Linked DNA regions of Homo sapiens: regions 1, 3, 4 and 5 are each linked to region 2. The links are contacts of gene promoters, found by promoter capture Hi-C in blood cells and fetal thymus (Javierre and others, 2016). All regions are on one chromosome and are shown on one strand. The core of a region is centred on a gene start or on the middle of the fragment in contact, and the rest is flanking DNA. Distances in the headings are between cores, read along the strand shown.

Evidence for each region. Contacts are between HindIII fragments. The CHiCAGO score rates a contact against its expected background, and 5 or more counts as called.
Region 1: a contact is called between the fragment with the promoter of ZSWIM6 here and the fragment with the promoter of DEPDC1B in region 2, in 1 of 17 cell types (total CD8 T cells). The highest score is 6.3, in total CD8 T cells.
Region 3: a fragment that was not itself captured here is called in contact with the fragment with the promoter of DEPDC1B in region 2 in 1 of 17 cell types (total CD8 T cells); the score reaches 6.1 in total CD8 T cells.
Region 4: a fragment that was not itself captured here is called in contact with the fragment with the promoter of DEPDC1B in region 2 in 1 of 17 cell types (monocytes); the score reaches 6.0 in monocytes.
Region 5: a contact is called between a fragment that was not itself captured here and the fragment with the promoter of DEPDC1B in region 2, in 1 of 17 cell types (total CD8 T cells). The highest score is 5.5, in total CD8 T cells.

The regions. Positions count from the first base shown.
Region 1 is chr5:61,330,923-61,334,150 of GRCh38, forward strand. ZSWIM6 (zinc finger SWIM-type containing 6) reads left to right here and starts at 1,336. Exons shown (of 14, transcript NM_020928.2): 1 at 1,336-2,026. The coding sequence starts at 1,351. It overlaps LOC105378994 (a long non-coding RNA gene), which reads right to left and starts at 1,294. Exons shown (of 2, transcript XR_007058781.1): 1 at 1,218-1,294. RefSeq lists silencers at 1-380, 411-480, 691-1,090, 1,201-1,340, 2,121-2,230 and 1 more. The HindIII fragment of the contact is 10,173 bases long and covers 1-3,228 here.
Region 2 is chr5:60,698,548-60,701,919 of GRCh38, forward strand. DEPDC1B (DEP domain containing 1B) reads right to left here and starts at 1,619. Exons shown (of 11, transcript NM_018369.3): 1 at 1,499-1,619. The coding sequence starts at 1,546. LOC124900982 (a long non-coding RNA gene) reads left to right here and starts at 1,693. Exons shown (of 2, transcript XR_007058779.1): 1 at 1,693-1,794; 2 at 3,107-3,372. The HindIII fragment of the contact is 2,062 bases long and covers 883-2,944 here.
Region 3 is chr5:61,409,219-61,412,508 of GRCh38, forward strand. The region is part of intron 1 of ZSWIM6 (zinc finger SWIM-type containing 6); the gene reads left to right. Among named protein-coding and RNA genes, the nearest start is that of ZSWIM6, 79 kb to the left of the region's middle. The HindIII fragment of the contact is 1,363 bases long and covers 833-2,195 here.
Region 4 is chr5:59,815,413-59,818,552 of GRCh38, forward strand. All of the region lies in intron 1 of PDE4D (phosphodiesterase 4D), which reads right to left. Among named protein-coding and RNA genes, the nearest start is that of PDE4D, 77 kb to the right of the region's middle. The HindIII fragment of the contact is 1,120 bases long and covers 1,328-2,447 here.
Region 5 is chr5:61,654,673-61,657,716 of GRCh38, forward strand. All of the region lies in intron 1 of LINC03122 (long intergenic non-protein coding RNA 3122), which reads left to right. Among named protein-coding and RNA genes, the nearest start is that of LINC03122, 18 kb to the left of the region's middle. The HindIII fragment of the contact is 4,377 bases long and covers 1-3,044 here.

The sequences.
Region 1 (3,228 bases), core at 86-2,585, 630 kb after region 2:
GCCTGGACTCCGCGCAGCCGGGCGCCGCGCACCCGGGTGCCGGGGTGGGAGCCGGGCCGCAGACCCAAGTGCGCCCGAAGCCGCCGTCCGCCGCCTGGCACGCCGTCTGCCGCCTGCTGGGCGATGTGTGCGCGAGCCCGTGGGGCTTGCGCGCGCCCTGCGGCGTGTGTACTCACAAAGGTGTGTCTGCTAACCCCACAGCCCGGGCTGCGTTCCACCCCGAGCTGGAGAAACCCCGGCCTGGAGCGGGGCCTTGTCCGCGCGGCCGCGGGGGCGACAAGGGCGGCCGGAGCTCCTCGACTTCTAGCGGGCGGGTCGGTTTCCTGGCCCGAGGGGCTGAGGCAGCGAGGGCGGGACGGTGGCAGCCGGCACCGGACGCGGGTCGCGCGGCTGCTGGGCACGTTCCGAGCGCTCTGCGTGTTTTCGGGCACAGCCCTGCAGCCGAGACAGAACGGACGCGGGGCTCGGGGATGGGCGCACTGCAGCCACGCGGGGTTAGCAGAGCGGGCGCGCTCCTTCCACACCAGGTCTGCAAAAGTGAAGTGGAAAGCCGCCGCCGAACGCAGCCATCCTCCCCCTTCCCCGCTGCAGCTTCGGCGGGTGGTGGGGAGAGCTCCCCTGGACCGGCTGGAGGGGAAGCTGGCAGGCGCTCGGGTTTGGCCGCGCCTCCTCCGCCTTCCTCTCCACCCGCGTCCCCCGGGGTCCATGCCGCATTTCTTTGTTTTGAAAGCGCCTCCTCCGCCCAGAGGCTTTTCCCCCGAAGGGCAGGGGGACGGGGGGGGTGGGGCATCGGCCCGTGGGCCCCGCCCTCCATTTAGCTCAGAACCCTCCCCTTCGCTCACCCCCTCTTCTCCCCTTTCCTCCCCCGCTGCGACCCACGAGGCGCATCCTCACTTCTCGGACTTCAAAGAGAAGCTGAGAACTGGAGGGGGAAGTGGGGTAGGCAGGGGGCGCAGAGACCCACCCACCTCAGGCCCGGCCCGGCGGCCCGCCCCCTCCCACGGGAACCCCGCCTGACCCCGCCCTCCCCCGCGTCACAGCAGCCTGACATTCTCACAACCCACCGGGCACCAAAACGGCCCGCCCCCGCCACCCCCGTGTCCGCCAAGCGCTCTATTTATGTTTCAGCCCAGCGATTTGCATAGGCCCCGCCCCCGGCCCTAGGTTCCCCCTATCAGAGCCCCGCCCCAGCTTCTGCGTCACAGCGGAGGCCCCACCTCTTGTGCCCATACAAGGAGCGGCGGGCCCTAGATGGCATCGTGGCGTCGCGACGGCGTGTGCGTGTCGCGCTTCCTAGTGCCGTTTATAGGGTCCCGGCACTTCCGCTGTCGGGTTAGAAGCGGCGCGGTCATGGCGGAGCGCGGACAGCAGCCTCCTCCCGCGAAACGGCTTTGCTGCCGGCCGGGCGGCGGCGGCGGCGGCGGGGGCAGCAGCGGCGGCGGCGGCGGCGCGGGTGGCGGCTACAGCTCTGCCTGTCGGCCAGGCCCGCGGGCGGGTGGCGCGGCGGCGGCGGCGGCGTGCGGGGGCGGCGCGGCGCTGGGGTTGCTGCCGCCGGGCAAGACCCAGAGCCCCGAGTCGCTGCTGGACATCGCGGCGCGCAGGGTGGCGGAGAAGTGGCCGTTCCAGCGCGTGGAGGAGCGCTTTGAGCGCATCCCGGAGCCGGTGCAGCGCCGCATAGTCTATTGGTCCTTCCCCCGCAGCGAGCGGGAGATCTGCATGTACTCGTCCTTCAACACCGGCGGCGGCGCCGCGGGCGGCCCCGGCGACGACAGCGGTGGCGGCGGCGGCGCGGGCGGCGGCGGCGGCGGCGGCTCCTCGTCTTCCCCGGCCGCAACCTCGGCGGCCGCAACCTCGGCCGCCGCCGCCGCTGCCGCCGCCGCCGCCGCCGCCGCCGCCGCCGCGGGGGCCGGGGCCCCGTCGGTGGGGGCTGCCGGGGCGGCGGACGGCGGCGACGAGACGCGGCTGCCTTTCCGCCGGGGCATCGCGCTGTTGGAAAGCGGCTGCGTAGACAACGTCCTGCAAGTCGGTGAGTCACGGGGCAGCCGCGAGCCGTCTGTCCGTCCGTCAGTCCCTGGGTGGGGGGGGGGTGCCCGCCTTTCTCCTGCGGACAGCCCCTAGTTCCGCGCGCGCCCGCACCCCTGCGGGTGTCCTCACTGGCCCGGACGGTCCTCCTGAGCGGAGCGCCCATTTCCTCCCTCCCTTCCCTGCCCCCCGTCGCCCCGGACGGGCCAGCGCGAGTGGGAAATGAATCAGCAGGACGCGCCCCTCCGTGGGCTCCGCGCCCCCGGCCCGCGCTCCCCTACCCGCCCTCCTCCGGGGAGCACATCCTGGAGGGCTGTTCGCCGGTTTCGGGGGTGGATGTGGACAAAGGCGCGGGCGGACGGCCGGCCTCCGGCGAGGGTGTGTGTGGCGGGGCTGTGCGGGGCGGGGGAGGGGGCGCGGGCCGCAGACAATGCCGGCCGCGGCCCGGCCGCTCGGCGCTCCCCCCCTCTCCCACTGCCTGTCGCTCGCTCCTTTTTCTTTCTGGCCCCCGCCCCACGCGATTTGAGGGGAGGGGAATACACTTAAAGCCGCTCGGCCGCCGCTCCTCCCAGGGCTCCGACGGGCGAGCGGCCGCGGCGCTCCCGGGTCGCTGTGGCGTCTGGCCCGGGCGAGCTCCACTGGCCGCCCGGGGTTTAAATGTCGTTTTCTTTGCGCCTCCTCAGTCTCCAAGCGGCGCAGAGGAGAGGTGGCGGCGGACCGGACTCCGTCTCCGGAGGGACATCTCGCCCGTAGGACGCTTACTAATTAAAGGGCGCGAGCCTGAGGAGGAGCTGCTAGCGCTTCCCTTTTCTCTGAAGCTGCCTCCAGACACCCCTGTGCGGGCCGCGGCGCAGCCCTTGTGCCCCGCCGCCCGAGTTTTGTTTGCGCTGTGTGGTCAGGTCGTGGTGCCCCGGGCGAGCCGCGGTCGGCAGTTGCGGATTTGCCGCTCGCAGCCAAAGGGGCGAGCGGGCTGCAGGAGCGCGAGGCAGAGGGCTCGGCGGCCGCTCCCGCGTCCCCGCGGCGCGGCAGCCCGGCACGACCCAGCACTTTGTTCTCATTTTCAGGTTTTTTTGTGCCCCTTTCAGTTTTCTGTCACCCTCCGAAAAGGAGAAACCAAACAAAAGAGTCTCTTTCTTTTCAGGGCTTGTAAAGTAGAATATATTTGACAAAGGCGAGAGAAGGACTTGTGATTTAGAGCTGCACAGC
Region 2 (3,372 bases), core at 369-2,868:
CTCCACAAAAGAACCATTGACATGAGTCTAGCCCAGATTACTGATCCAAAGGATGAGCAAATAAAATGCTTGTCTTTATGCCAAATAAAACAATGTCACAGACTCTCCCAATCTCCTTATTATTTTTTTTTTTTTTTGAGATGGAGTTTCGCTCGTTGCCCAGGCTGGAGTGCAATGGCGCGATCTCAGCTCACTGCAACCTCTGCCTCCCAGGTTCAAGAGATTCTCCTGCCTCAGCCTCCTGAGTAGCTGAGACTATAGGCGCATGCCACCATGCCCAGCTAATTTTTGTATTTTTAGTACAGACGGGGTTTTGCTGTGTTGGCCAGGCTGGTCTCGAACTCCTGACCTCAAGCGATCCATCCCCTTAAATCATGTAAAATTTCATGAGTATGTGCCATGTGCAGTTTTCTGTGAAGAAGATCCTTAATCTTCATCAGATTCTCAAAGCGATCTATGAGCCAAATTTAAAAAGTAAAGACCCATCAGCCCCAACTATGATTTCTCTTCCAGAAGCTGGCCTTCTCAGCTCTGGCTTGACTTACTGGTATAGTGTGTGGCTGGCTTTGGAAAGAAAAGGAAACTCTATTTACATTATCTGTATCCCAGCATCCTCACCTCTTCCATGAGTCTAGCTGAGTAAGAGTTTGGATGTTAGTTCCCATCTTTTCCTGTGTATTCATTATAATGCATGGAACTATGAGAGTAATTCCCATGTTAAATGTGGCCAGAGAGGTCGGCAGACCAAGGAGCAAGTTACTGTCCTCCCAAATTACCATTACACTTCCACAGAAAGTCCTCTAAAAACTTGCCACAGACATTACCAAACTGTCACCCTTTATTGTTCCAAGTCAAAGCAGACCAAGTACACCTCAATACCAAAGCTTTTCTCCCAGAAAAAAAAAAAAAAAAAAACAGGAACTCAGAGTCGGCAAAGACTCTCCTAAAACATCTGTCCTGGCCAGCTCTTCATCTGGATCGGTGCTGACAGAAACAGAAACGCCAGGGGCCGGAAATGCGGCCAGCGCGATGCCCCTCTGTTCTGGGCACCGTTTATTCGAATACCCCGTCAGGTATCATCAGGTGTCACTCAGGAAGGAGACACGCCCTGCCTGGACTGCCGCGAACGCTGAGCGTTACGGGGTACGTGGTGGCCCCTCAGGTTACCGACCGGGTCGGTTAGATTCCAGAGGACAAAAGGCAGGGAACAGCCTGGTCTTGGGGTCTTTAAACAGAGAGGCGCCATCTACTGCCGAGAACCCAGTCAACATCTCATGGACAAAGCTGCACTAACCCCCGGCCGGCTGAGCTCTGGGCCCCGTTAGCCTTTCTTTGAGGCTCGTCCACTAAAAGGCAGCCCCAGTAGTCCCAGCTGAAATGCTCCACACCCGAGCCCCGCTGGCCTGCGGAAGCGAAGACTGACAAGCACTCTGTCCGCGCGCTGAGTGGGGGCTCGCGGCACCGGGTGCTCCGCCCAGGCCCCAGCACACTCACTCACCAGCCTGGTAGCTCGGTACGGCCCGGGCCCCACGATGCGATGCTCCATGGCGCGTAGGCAGCAGCGGCCGCAGCCGCGCCAGCGCTGATCCCCGCCAGCCGGAGGAGCAGCAGTTTGAATCCCAAGCCCGCGGGCTGCGGGCGCTGATTGGGCGGCGCGGCAGCACGTCACCGGAAATGCGCGGGGAGGCAGGCGTCTTCTCCGAGACCCGCGGCGCTGGGAGCTCCGCGTGCGAACTTGCCCGGGGCGAAATCTGTTGCCCACCCTGGTCCCACCGTGCGAGCACACCTAGGCAGGTGCGACTAAGGGGCCGGGGGCGTCTCCCCAGCGCTGGAAAACGCTGTGCAGCGCCCTTCCCAGATTTCTGCGTCCGCGCAACACAAACACACGCAACGCTATCTCTACAAAAGGGTCAATAATAGGTGTTATCCAGCGACCGAAACCCAGCTTTGGGCCGCGTGGATAAATACCTGTCCTCCCTACCAAGTGCACTGTGAGCCTGGAGGTGCTGCTAACGCTGGGAGAAGCGGTAGTGAAATGAAGCGAGGCGACAGCTTTTACCAGTGTAGGGACATTTAAAAACGGGATAGAGAGCACAAGGAGCGTAGACAGTGTGTTAAGGGCAATAAAGAGCGGGAAGGGAGCCCCGATTCCTCTTCTGTTTGTTCTCATGATAGTCTTTTCCCCTTTAATTTGAGTTCTATGTTTTGTATTGGGCTGATACTTTTAGTCCTCGGCAATAGGGTTGTGAGTCCTTTTTTGACTGCTTAGAATTTTCCCCCTGGGAATTGCTAGTCCGATTTGCAATCTTTCAGAGGGACAAATGAAGTAACTCCATATACTTAGGACTCTGTACACCTACTCAAATTTGGTCATCTCGGTAAGTACCCAGGACAAGACGTTGAAGGAGTGAAGGTGTGCCATTCCAAAATATGCCTAATTGGTATATTGATTATTTCGAGCGGAAAACATTGGAGAAATGGTAGTTTCAGAAAGGGCAAGCTGACCTGCCTCTTCGATGCAGCAGGCCACAAAGATTTCTCTGGGATGGGCATCCTCTCCCTACCACGGTGAGAAAATAGCCTTTATCACCAAAGGCTTGGAATTGAAGGCTGCAGTGGACCTGAATAAACATTCTTAACGAAGTAACCCTATCTTCCACTAGGAGATATAGGAGATTTTTTACATATATCTTCTAGTGACTCCCTAGAAAATGTTACTGCCTTTGTGAGCTGTGGAAGTTAACTCGAGTCACAGGGCACCAAAATATGTTAGCAGCTGCCCATATCCGAGACACGGCCCCAAAGTATGTTACAGGCAGTGAATTCCTACAGATCTGCAGCAACCTCAATTCTTGACTCCTCAGAAGAAAGAGTTCGACTGAGGGGCATAAGGCAAAAGGAGAGACCAAGGCAAGTATTAGAACAGAAGTGAAGTTTATTAAAAAGCTTTGAATGAAAGGAAGTACACTTGGAAGAGGGCCAAGCCAGTGACTTGAGAGATCTAGTGCGTAGTTTGACCTTTTGACCTGGGGTTTTATACGTTGGCATACTTCTGGGGTCTTGCTTTTGGGGCTTTGCATTACTTCTCTCCTGATTCTTCCCTTAGAGTGAGCTGTCCACAGGCGCATACTTGAGCCCACTTGCCCAACTCCTAAGATCTTATCGGGAAGCTGCTGATCAACAGTTCAAGTGTTTTCTATTAGGAGACTGCCTTTCCCTGGTGCCGGCTGTGACCAACTATTATTTTAGAGAGACAATTAACAACCACCTGACCATCACCTGATGGCTGCCTGACATTCCTGATGTGTGTGTGTATGAGGGGGAGCCCTCTCCTGCCCTGCTCATGCCTGACTAGCTACCTACTGTAACACC
Region 3 (3,290 bases), core at 264-2,763, 710 kb after region 2:
TGAGAACGAGGGGGCCACAGTAAAAACTTTGGTGATTTTTACCAGTGGAGGGGCTAGGGAGGTGATTTTTGCTGTTTAAGGAGGTTCTCAAATTTACTTACCTGCAGTCCATTTTCATTTCAGAATTGCTACCAGAAAGAAATTGTAAAAGTTTTCAAGCATGATTTTGTAAAGCAAAAGATCAAAAAAGGAGAGAAATTATGTGGAAAATTGGCAAGATTAATTATATCTCTATTAAGACCACCTTTGCGCAAGATAGTTTTGGGTTATTACTGCTGATTTTCAGCCTTTAAAGAAAAATGTGGGTTCTTGGTAGCAACTTACAAGGATGGTGTTTAGAGCTATAGTTCCCCCTTCTCCACCATACCCTGTTTTCTTGATGGTTAATTTTACTTTTAAAAACATTTGTATTTCTTGACTATTTATTAATTAGATCATTTTGCTTAGTCATACCTAAGAGTTTTGTTAGTCTTCGGTTTCTTAGTTGTATGAGTCAGAGTCAGGAATGCAAATTTATTAGCTTTTTGTGGAGAGGGATATGTGGGATGGTGAGAGCTGCGGGTGGGTAAGCATGGAGTGCAATACCAGTTCATAGACAAGGATCTAAAAGGAGCCATTAAGCTCCATGGAAAACATTGTTACTTGATCAGGCCAGTAAAGGAAGACTATTTTGAGTAGCTACTGAAGTTATCTGATAGTTAATTTAATTGATTTGAGTAACTCTTTCAGGGACCCCAGATTTGTAAAAGTGGCACTGTTGTGACTTTTGATAAAGGGAGTTTTAGCCTTTCATGAGAGGAAGCCTTGGACTTATTTGTCCTTCATGTTGAGAAGCTTCCGTATGATCTTCATGGTTTCCTTAGGCACAATCACTGTGATTTCACCTATGTATAGCAGCCCAACTAAGGTGAAGTCAGCATATAGACCAGGAAGATACAAAACTACGAAAACTCAGGACCAGCCTTGGCAAAAGGCAACATGTGTAGCCCTAAATTACCCCGGTACTCTAGTGCTCAGCCCCACATTGACAATTGCACAGAATTTAAGTGTTCTGAGTTTGTGAATAGTATTGTAATAATGGATGTATTTCCTTTTTTTTTTTTTTTTTTTCAGACGGAGTCTCACTCTGTTGCCAGGCTGGAGTGCAGTGGTGCGATCTCGGCTCACTGCAACCTCTGACTCCCTGGTTCAGGCGATTCTCCTGCCTCAGCCTCCCGAGTAGCTGGGATTACAGGCACGTGCCACCATGCCTGGCTAATTTTTGTATTTTTAGTAGAGATGGGGTTTCACCATGTTGGCCAGGATGGTCTCGATCTCCTGACCTCGTGATCCACCCACCTTGGCCTCCCAGAGTGCTGGGATTACAGGCATGAGCCACCGTGCCCGGCGATTTATTTCCTTTTTAAACCATCTGACTAGATTCTAAAGACTGGTGTTTTTCACTTAGATACCTTTTTGTTGATAGTACACTTCATGCAGAATAATTTTAAGAGTACAGAGTTGTAAACTACTGTTACATTGAACTCAAATATTAAGGTCATTTCATTTAATACATAGAATAGCCAACAGGAATATTTGACAGATTGAACATTGAATTAAGAATGAGGTATGAAGTGTGCTTAGTTTGCTAAGTCACCAGTTATACGACTTTGTCCACTTTTAATCTCATCGTGTCTTAGTTTCTCCAGGGGAAAATGCTTTTTATTAGTTTTCCTATAACAGGACTCAAGGCAAAAAACGCTTTTATGAAGACGTAAGAATATTCTGGTTAATAATACACTATGGTTTGGCATGCTTGGAAAGGGCAGCAGAAGAAATGGCAACCTGGTGTGGATGCTGACTGGTCTCTCCATCTCTCTGCTTGTCTGAAGCACTGCAGCAAAGTCGCTGGGAGGTCCTGTGCTCTAGGAGTGGAGCCTTGAGTGATTTGAGTGTGTATTTAGAATGAGGTTTCCTTTCTTTGTTTTTGCCAAATTAGTTATCAGTTCTTCTAAAATACAGTCCTCTCAAAATATGGAGTGAATGTTTGTGTCTTGTTGGATGAGTCTGTATTTGGACTTAAGTGTGACTCAATTGTTTTTTAAACTTTAATGACAACTAAGGTGAGCACATTTTGAGTTACAAAGGATGGGAATACAGTAAAAATTGCTTCCCTGAAGTCTTGATATTAGTGAAGAAACAACCCCCTAATTGGAAGCTTTTGGACAAAGCTAGAATATAGTTTTGCTTCCTGAATACTCTAAAATGTTTCAGGAAATTTCAACCTTGTCTTTAATAAGAACACTTTAAAATTACTTTTGTCTAGTTAACACATGTTTTGAAATATATTGTCTTCAATGTGTTAATCCACTCAGGCTCCTATAACAAAAATACCTTTAACCAGTAGCTTATAAACCATACAAATTTATTTGTCCCAGTTCTGGAGGCTAAGAAGTCCAAGATCAAGGTGCCATCAGATTGGGTGTCTGATGAGGCCCCTTTTCCTGGTTCCTGGATGGCACCTTCTTGCTGTGTCTTCATGTGGTAGAAGGAAAGGATGAAAGGTCTCTCTTGGGCCTCTTTTTAAGGGCCCTAATCCCATTCATGAGGGCTCTACATCCGTGACCTACTTAACCTTGTAAAGGCGGCACATCACCTTGGAGGTGAGGATTTCAACATATGAATTGGGGTTGGGGATAAGTATGCAGACCATAGCATGCATTTTCATTTTCATTCATATATTGAGATTTTAGGAAATTAATCAAAGACATTATAGCTGCTAATACCGATCAAATAACCAATGTAACCACAATAAATTGATTTAATTTCAGCCCACAAGAAATGAAAAATTGATCTTTGTTATGTTAGCCTTGTAACTTTACTTCTGGTAAATCTACAGTTTCTATTAGATGGTTTGAAACTTTGGACAAAGCACGTGATACCTTATTGCTTCCAATGAATCACAGGGAATTGAGATTGGGACCCTATACTGAGATCTCATGATAAAAAGAGAAAAACTTCACAGGAGAAAGTTGAACTGCTTTTTATGCAGGAATAGAACTTCTGGGTTGGTCAGAGTTGCAACTACCATAATTTAGATCTGGCATCGTTTGCTGGGAAATGGGGTCGGGAGAGAAGCAGCATCCTAGGTTTGATCCCCTGAAGACTGATAGCTCAGGTGTAGTGTGATTTTAGTATGTTTCAGGGCTTGAATTTAGAATCTTCCCTTTCCATTTCCTTGCATATCAGGAATTAGTGATGTGGAGGCATTTATTGTTTATGTTATTTGGGGCAGCTGGCAGCACATTTGT
Region 4 (3,140 bases), core at 638-3,137, 880 kb before region 2:
GGTAGGTGGGTAGGCTCCAGAGCTAGTCTGCTGGGTTCCGAGTTGGCTGTCTTACTTCCTAGCTCTGAGACCTCTGCAAGTTACTTAACTTCGCTCTTCCTCAGTGTTTTTAGTTCTCAAGTGGGCATAGTAATGAAATGGGGTGGTTGTAGGGATTGAGTTAATACATATAAAAGAGTTAGAACAAATCCAGCTGAGACTAGTGCCATGCAATTGTTAGCTAGTGTTCCTGGTACAACTATCAGACCAGGGGCCAGGAGAATGCTACAGACCTGGCTGAAACTGAATTTCAACAAAGCATTTCACAAATGCATACAAAATACAGCCAAGGACCTGCTGGAAAAGTGGTCTGAGGAACACAAATACATAGATTCATATTTGGTTTTACAACTAGAAATTCATTTCAGCCTAAGGAGACTTCTTTAATTTCAAGCCTTGTGATTATCCTCAGCCCTGTCCTGATCGACATTTTTCATCAAGAAGACCTGAAATTATTTTATTGTAAAAATTGTGAATATTGTGAAGTATTCCAAGCATACAAAAATAACTTTCGGGATTTAGAACTGACAACAATGTGGAAAAGCCATACATATCTAAAGCACGAGTGAATTCTTTCTTACTGAACCTATTCAAATAAAGACTGAAAGACCTGGCAGTGAAGGGTTGGAAGTGTCACATGAGGCATATATTGAGATGAACTTTGAAAATTCTATTCACACATGAAGATGTTTATGAAGTATTTTATATATGTTAGGCATTGTCTTAGGTACTTGGAATGTATGTAAACAAAATAAACACCTGTCTTGTTGGACTTACATTCAGGTGGACTCCTTAATAACCTGTAAGTTATAGGAATTACTAGATTTTGGTTTAATTCTGAAGTTTGTCACTCACTATATATAAACCTGATAAGCTCCCTCGTTTTTTTCTCATCTGGAAAATGGCGATAAAATGCCATCCTTTCATATTTAGGATCATTCATTCGCTCAACAAGTACTTCCTACTTTGTGCTATGCTCTTGGGAAAAAAAATGAATGAGAGAAGGATCCTGCCCTCATGGTACTTGTATCTTATATTATCCAGAAGATAAAATAAGGCACTTACCAAAAATACTAACATTTACATATCAATGAAAGGCTATGCCTATTATATCTAATGATAGCAGCATGGCCTGTGAGTCTTTGGTCGTCTTTTTGGGGATATACAATGTATATTTTGGCTGTTACCTAAGCCATTCTCCAATATTACACCCCTCACTACCGCTATGTACACAGATAGTCTGCTCCACACTCAGAAAGGTAGGGACAACACCCTAGGATTTCCATAAAGCTTAGAAGGATTTCCTTCCTAAGAAATACCCAGTTTTGCTGCCAAACACTCCTCCCCTCCTACATGAAGGCCTGAGTCAAGAGATATCGTGGGTGGGAGAAGTTACCCTGCATGTCACCAGAACCTCAGCATGCACACTTTAAAATGAATTTCCAAATGCAAATTTGTTCCTAGATCCACAGCATGGCAAGTGAGATGCAGAAGCCTGGTTCCTGGAGGAGGAGCCAGCATTGATTCGTGGAGGGCAGTGTCCTCTCACAGGGGTAAGTGAGCAGGGGTAAATCATCGTTCCCATGAACTCCTCTCCATCTGCTCTCCCCACTCTGGGAACACTAGTGTGCTGCTCCACCTCCTTCTGCCCCCTCCTGGGATGGGCTCCAGAGGATGATAGGCAGGGCACCTAAATTCCCAGCTGACGGAAACGTGAATGTGCTCAGTAGCTAAAGGTGGCTCAGGAAGTTTGGAAGATTAGATGAGATGGTTCTCCCTCTCCCTCATTTAGATCACACACATTTTCCAACATGTAGGGGAGAAGAGGGAGCTCTGTATTTTTTATTTATCCAACAAATATGTATTGAACATCTACCATGTGTGGGACAGTGTCTTAGGTATTAGGAATACAACAAAGAAGAACCTCAAATCCTTACTGGTATTTAGATTACTAATACCGGGAGGAGTGGGAAAGACACATAGTAAACACATTAATGACCTATTAAATATATGCTGGGTCACCACTATGGACTGTATTGCGTCCCTCACCCCAATTCATATGTTGAAGTGTTGATATGTTCCCATCAATTCATATATTCCTATCAGCTCATATGTTCATATGTTGAACTCTCAATGTCACTATATCTGAAGATAGGGCTTTTAGTCAGTAAATAAGTTTAAATGTGGTCATAAGGGTAGGGTCCTAATCTGACCTTATAAGAAGAGGCAAAGAGCTTTCTCTTTCTCCCTACACAGGCATGCAGGCACGCGCGCGCGCGCACACACCCACACCCCCCCCCACACACACACAGAAAGGCCATGTGAGGACATAGTGAAAAGGTGTCTGTGTCTGCAGGCCAAGAAGAGACCCATAACCAGCACTGAACCAAGCTGGCACACTGATCTCAAGCTTCCAGCCTCCAGAACTGTGAGAAAATAAATGATTGTTATTTAAGCCACCCCATCTGGTGTTTTGCTTTGTAGCCTTGCTAACACTGTCAGGTAGCCCTAAGTGTGCTGAAGAAAACCCAAGTGGAATAAAGGGGTGGAGAGAGATCAAGAGAGGTGGTTAGGGAGACACTCTGAGGAGGGACATTGAGCAGAGAGCCCAGTGAAGCTCACATGTATCCAAAGGCAAGCCCTGGCCTGGAGTTTAAGAATGGCAACACTCAGGCATGGCAGGGTTTGTCCTTAGAAGCAAATGGGATTGCTGTTTTATCAGCATGTTTTTGAAAAATAGACTGTTCTCTTGCAGAGAGGAAATGTATAATTGGTGATCGCCTAGCTGTGTGAGCTTGGGCACGTTCCTTAAATCTCATGTCCCAGTTTGCTCAGTTGTGAAATGGGATAATAATCATCTTTACCTTGTTAGGTTGTTGGGAGGTTTAAATGAGTTAATATATGTAAAGTGCATGGACCCATGCCTGAAACACAGTCAGTGCTCAATAAATAGTAGCTATTATTATTGCTATCAATACAACTACTATCTCTATTATTACAACAACTGCTACTACTATTACTATTGGAAAGCCACAGGCAGAACATTATAAAAGAAATTTCAGCAATGGCATCTTTCAATTAAATCTTTTCTGAGCATCTTG
Region 5 (3,044 bases), core at 121-2,620, 960 kb after region 2:
CTGACCTCAGATGATCCACCTGCCTCGGTCTCCCAAAGTGGTGGGATTACAGGCGTGAGCCACCATGCCTGGGCTGGCCTGTTGTATCTTATGCTCATCGCAGCCTTCCCCCTGCCCTGGTCCTCAGGCATCCCTGCAGGCTTTTGCTCAGCTAGCTGCTGAGTCATGTGGTCTGTGAAGACTGGAGAGCTGCAGGAGAAAAGAAGCCCTGAGAGTCCTCACCTTCTCTTTCTGCTTTGGCAGCATCACCAGCTGTGGCTGGGTCTTTTTTCTGGACTCCAGCTCCTGTCGAGAGACCCCTGTTATGATTTTGGCTCCCCCGGACAGCCCTGGCTCCTGGGCTTTGGTGACATCACCTCTTTCCTTTGACCCTCAGGCCTCATTCCTGGCTTGCTGCTGGTGCTGATCTTTGGATTGCCTTACCATTGCCCTTGTCATTTCACCTCTTTCTCCACCTTTGCAACAACTCCCCTGTATTAAATTTCCCCTTCAGCTCTTTTGTTAATGGGGCCCTGGCAGATTTAGCCTGAAATGCTGCTCTGAGGAGTCTGGGTTTCATGCTTTCTGGTAGTTGATTTGACATCAGGAGAGGCTTTTGAGAAGGACGTGATATGATCAAATGGAGCAAATGGGTGTTTGATATTGGGGGTTTCATGGATGCCCTAGAAAATTTGTAAATAGCCTTTAAGTGTCTATGAGCATGCCACAGTTGTCTGAAATTTTATGCATATGTGCAGAAGTGACTTTTTTGTGTGTGTGGGAAGAGATCCTATAGCTTTCATCAGATTCTCTGTGGGATTTTAGAATATCCTAAGAACTACTGGACTAGAAGTAGGATCAGTTAGCAATGCAAATCACTCAATGCATCAGAGTCCCAGCAGGAAACAGAACTCACTGGAGATGGTTCTGCTGGAGACTTTAAAGAAGGGGCTACTTCAGAAGTGTGGGCAGAGGTAGGTGGACAAACAAGAGATGGGAGGCACCCCAAGTTTAGCACCAGTGGGGAGCTGGTATCCCCAAGGATGAAGGGCCAAGGGGAGGAAACTGAGGGACTGGGGCCCATGATAGTTGGAGCCCTGGAGGAAGAGCCTCTCGGTGGAAGCAGGAGTGCTGGAGGGACACAGTCTTCTTCTGAGATGGGGAGTCCAAGCAGGGGACAAGGACACAGTGTAGCTTCTCTCTTCCCACTTGACTGGCCATTAGTGCCTCCCCTCGTCTCTAATACAGTTGGAAGCCAGCAGCCAAGGGTGTTTGGGTGATGTGGTCTGTGGGGTCAAAGTGGGGGAGAGAATGCAGTAAATGGGTAGATTCGGACAGAGCAGGGTAGACGGAGAAAAACCAACATTCACAGAAAATACGTTACTTAGGACTTCCAGCATTGTGCAAGAAGGAAATTGACAGAAGTCATGTTTGGTAGTTGCCGGCATCATTCCTCACGTTCTGACTTCTGGATTCTGCTTTTCATCAGTCCCTTCTGCACTAACTTGCCCAGCCTAGTAAAGTCATATAAAGAGAAGCAAAATTCAGAGGATTCTTTTGTTGTTGTTGTTAACCTTTTCCTTCCACTGCTACTTACAAGCTCTCTGACGTTGGAAGTCACAAAAATGTCTCTGAGCCTCATTCATCAAGTATGGAAGAGGTTGGGTTTGATGTTTTGCATTGTGCCTTCTGGCTTGAAGGTTTTATGATGCTTTAAGAGGGTCTTTGGCTTCCTCCTTATGAAAGGCATGTAGTGCTCTGGCCCCTTCTAAAGGGGTGAGCCGCCTTCCCTTGCCCGTTGTCGCCTGCAATGGTTTGAAGGCTGGAAGAGAGCACAACAGCAGTACCCCAGTCCTCCAAGGAACAGACCGCAGCAGGTTATTAGCATTTTATCGACTTTGGCTCTGCTGTTGATTGTCAGGATCTGTAGTGAAATACTTTAATATACATTTGAGTCTAAGTGTTACCCAGGCCGAAGGAGCACTAATTTTGAAGATATGTTTGCATTATAGCCTGTGTTCTAGAGAGACCCAATATAAAGAAACACACCCAGCAACTCTGCTTACTCGGCTGGTGGAGGGAATTGAGGATTGTTGCTGAAGGGAACTCACTTTTGTATGCATTTCAGAGATTTAATTTTATTAGCCAATGCAAATGATCTGTTCCACAAATGTAAAACAAAAGGACAAGAAAATGATCCCTGTGTCAACATCAGGATGTCTGACTTAAAATCCCATTCGAATAACTCCCTAAAAATGATCAGACACTGAATACATTATTTTTCTGACTTTGACAAAACTAGTCTGCACAAAGAAGCAGCCCCATGAGGTTACGGATAAACCAACCACCTTAAAACTTCAGCATTTTCATGTCAGTCACAGATTTTCTTAAGGGCCAACTCACTGTTTAAGGACTAATGTGTTTGGAGAGGGAAAAAAACCACACTGTGTTATTAAGCAGAATCCCCTTTACATACAGGGATCGGATCAGTTTGCCCGGATTGTGTTGCCTGCTTTATTGTCCTACTTCAAACACGGGGCCCTGGGCATCATCTCGAGGAAGGGCTGATTGAACTGTCGGCCTGACACTTGTCAGCTGTGGATAATACGGGCTTCAGTCCGTCATGCTCACACATAAATGAACCATGACAGAGATAGACTGTTGAATAGAAAAAGCAGTTTTACTGTGGATAACCTTTCTTGAATAAATGCAACAAATAATAAAGTCTGAAAAGGGGGAACATGTACCTTAGGAAAGCAGTGACGTTCAGAACCAAACGGTTATTATCTTTTTGGGCCATCAAAAATTGCCCATTTATCCAAGTACATTATTGAGAGAAAAGCTAAAAGTGCTATGATTATCATAAAAATGATGGCAGTTGAATCTATGCAGTCTTCAATATTATATCACATAACAAAACCTAGTTACAGCTCACCAGGATTGAAAAAGGAGGCATTGTTTGTGTACCAAATGGAATCCACAATTGTTCTTAGAAAATGGTGGCACACATCTTAATTAAAAGAGCAGAAAAAGAATCTAAAGCTCTTCTTTATGTCTTTAAAACA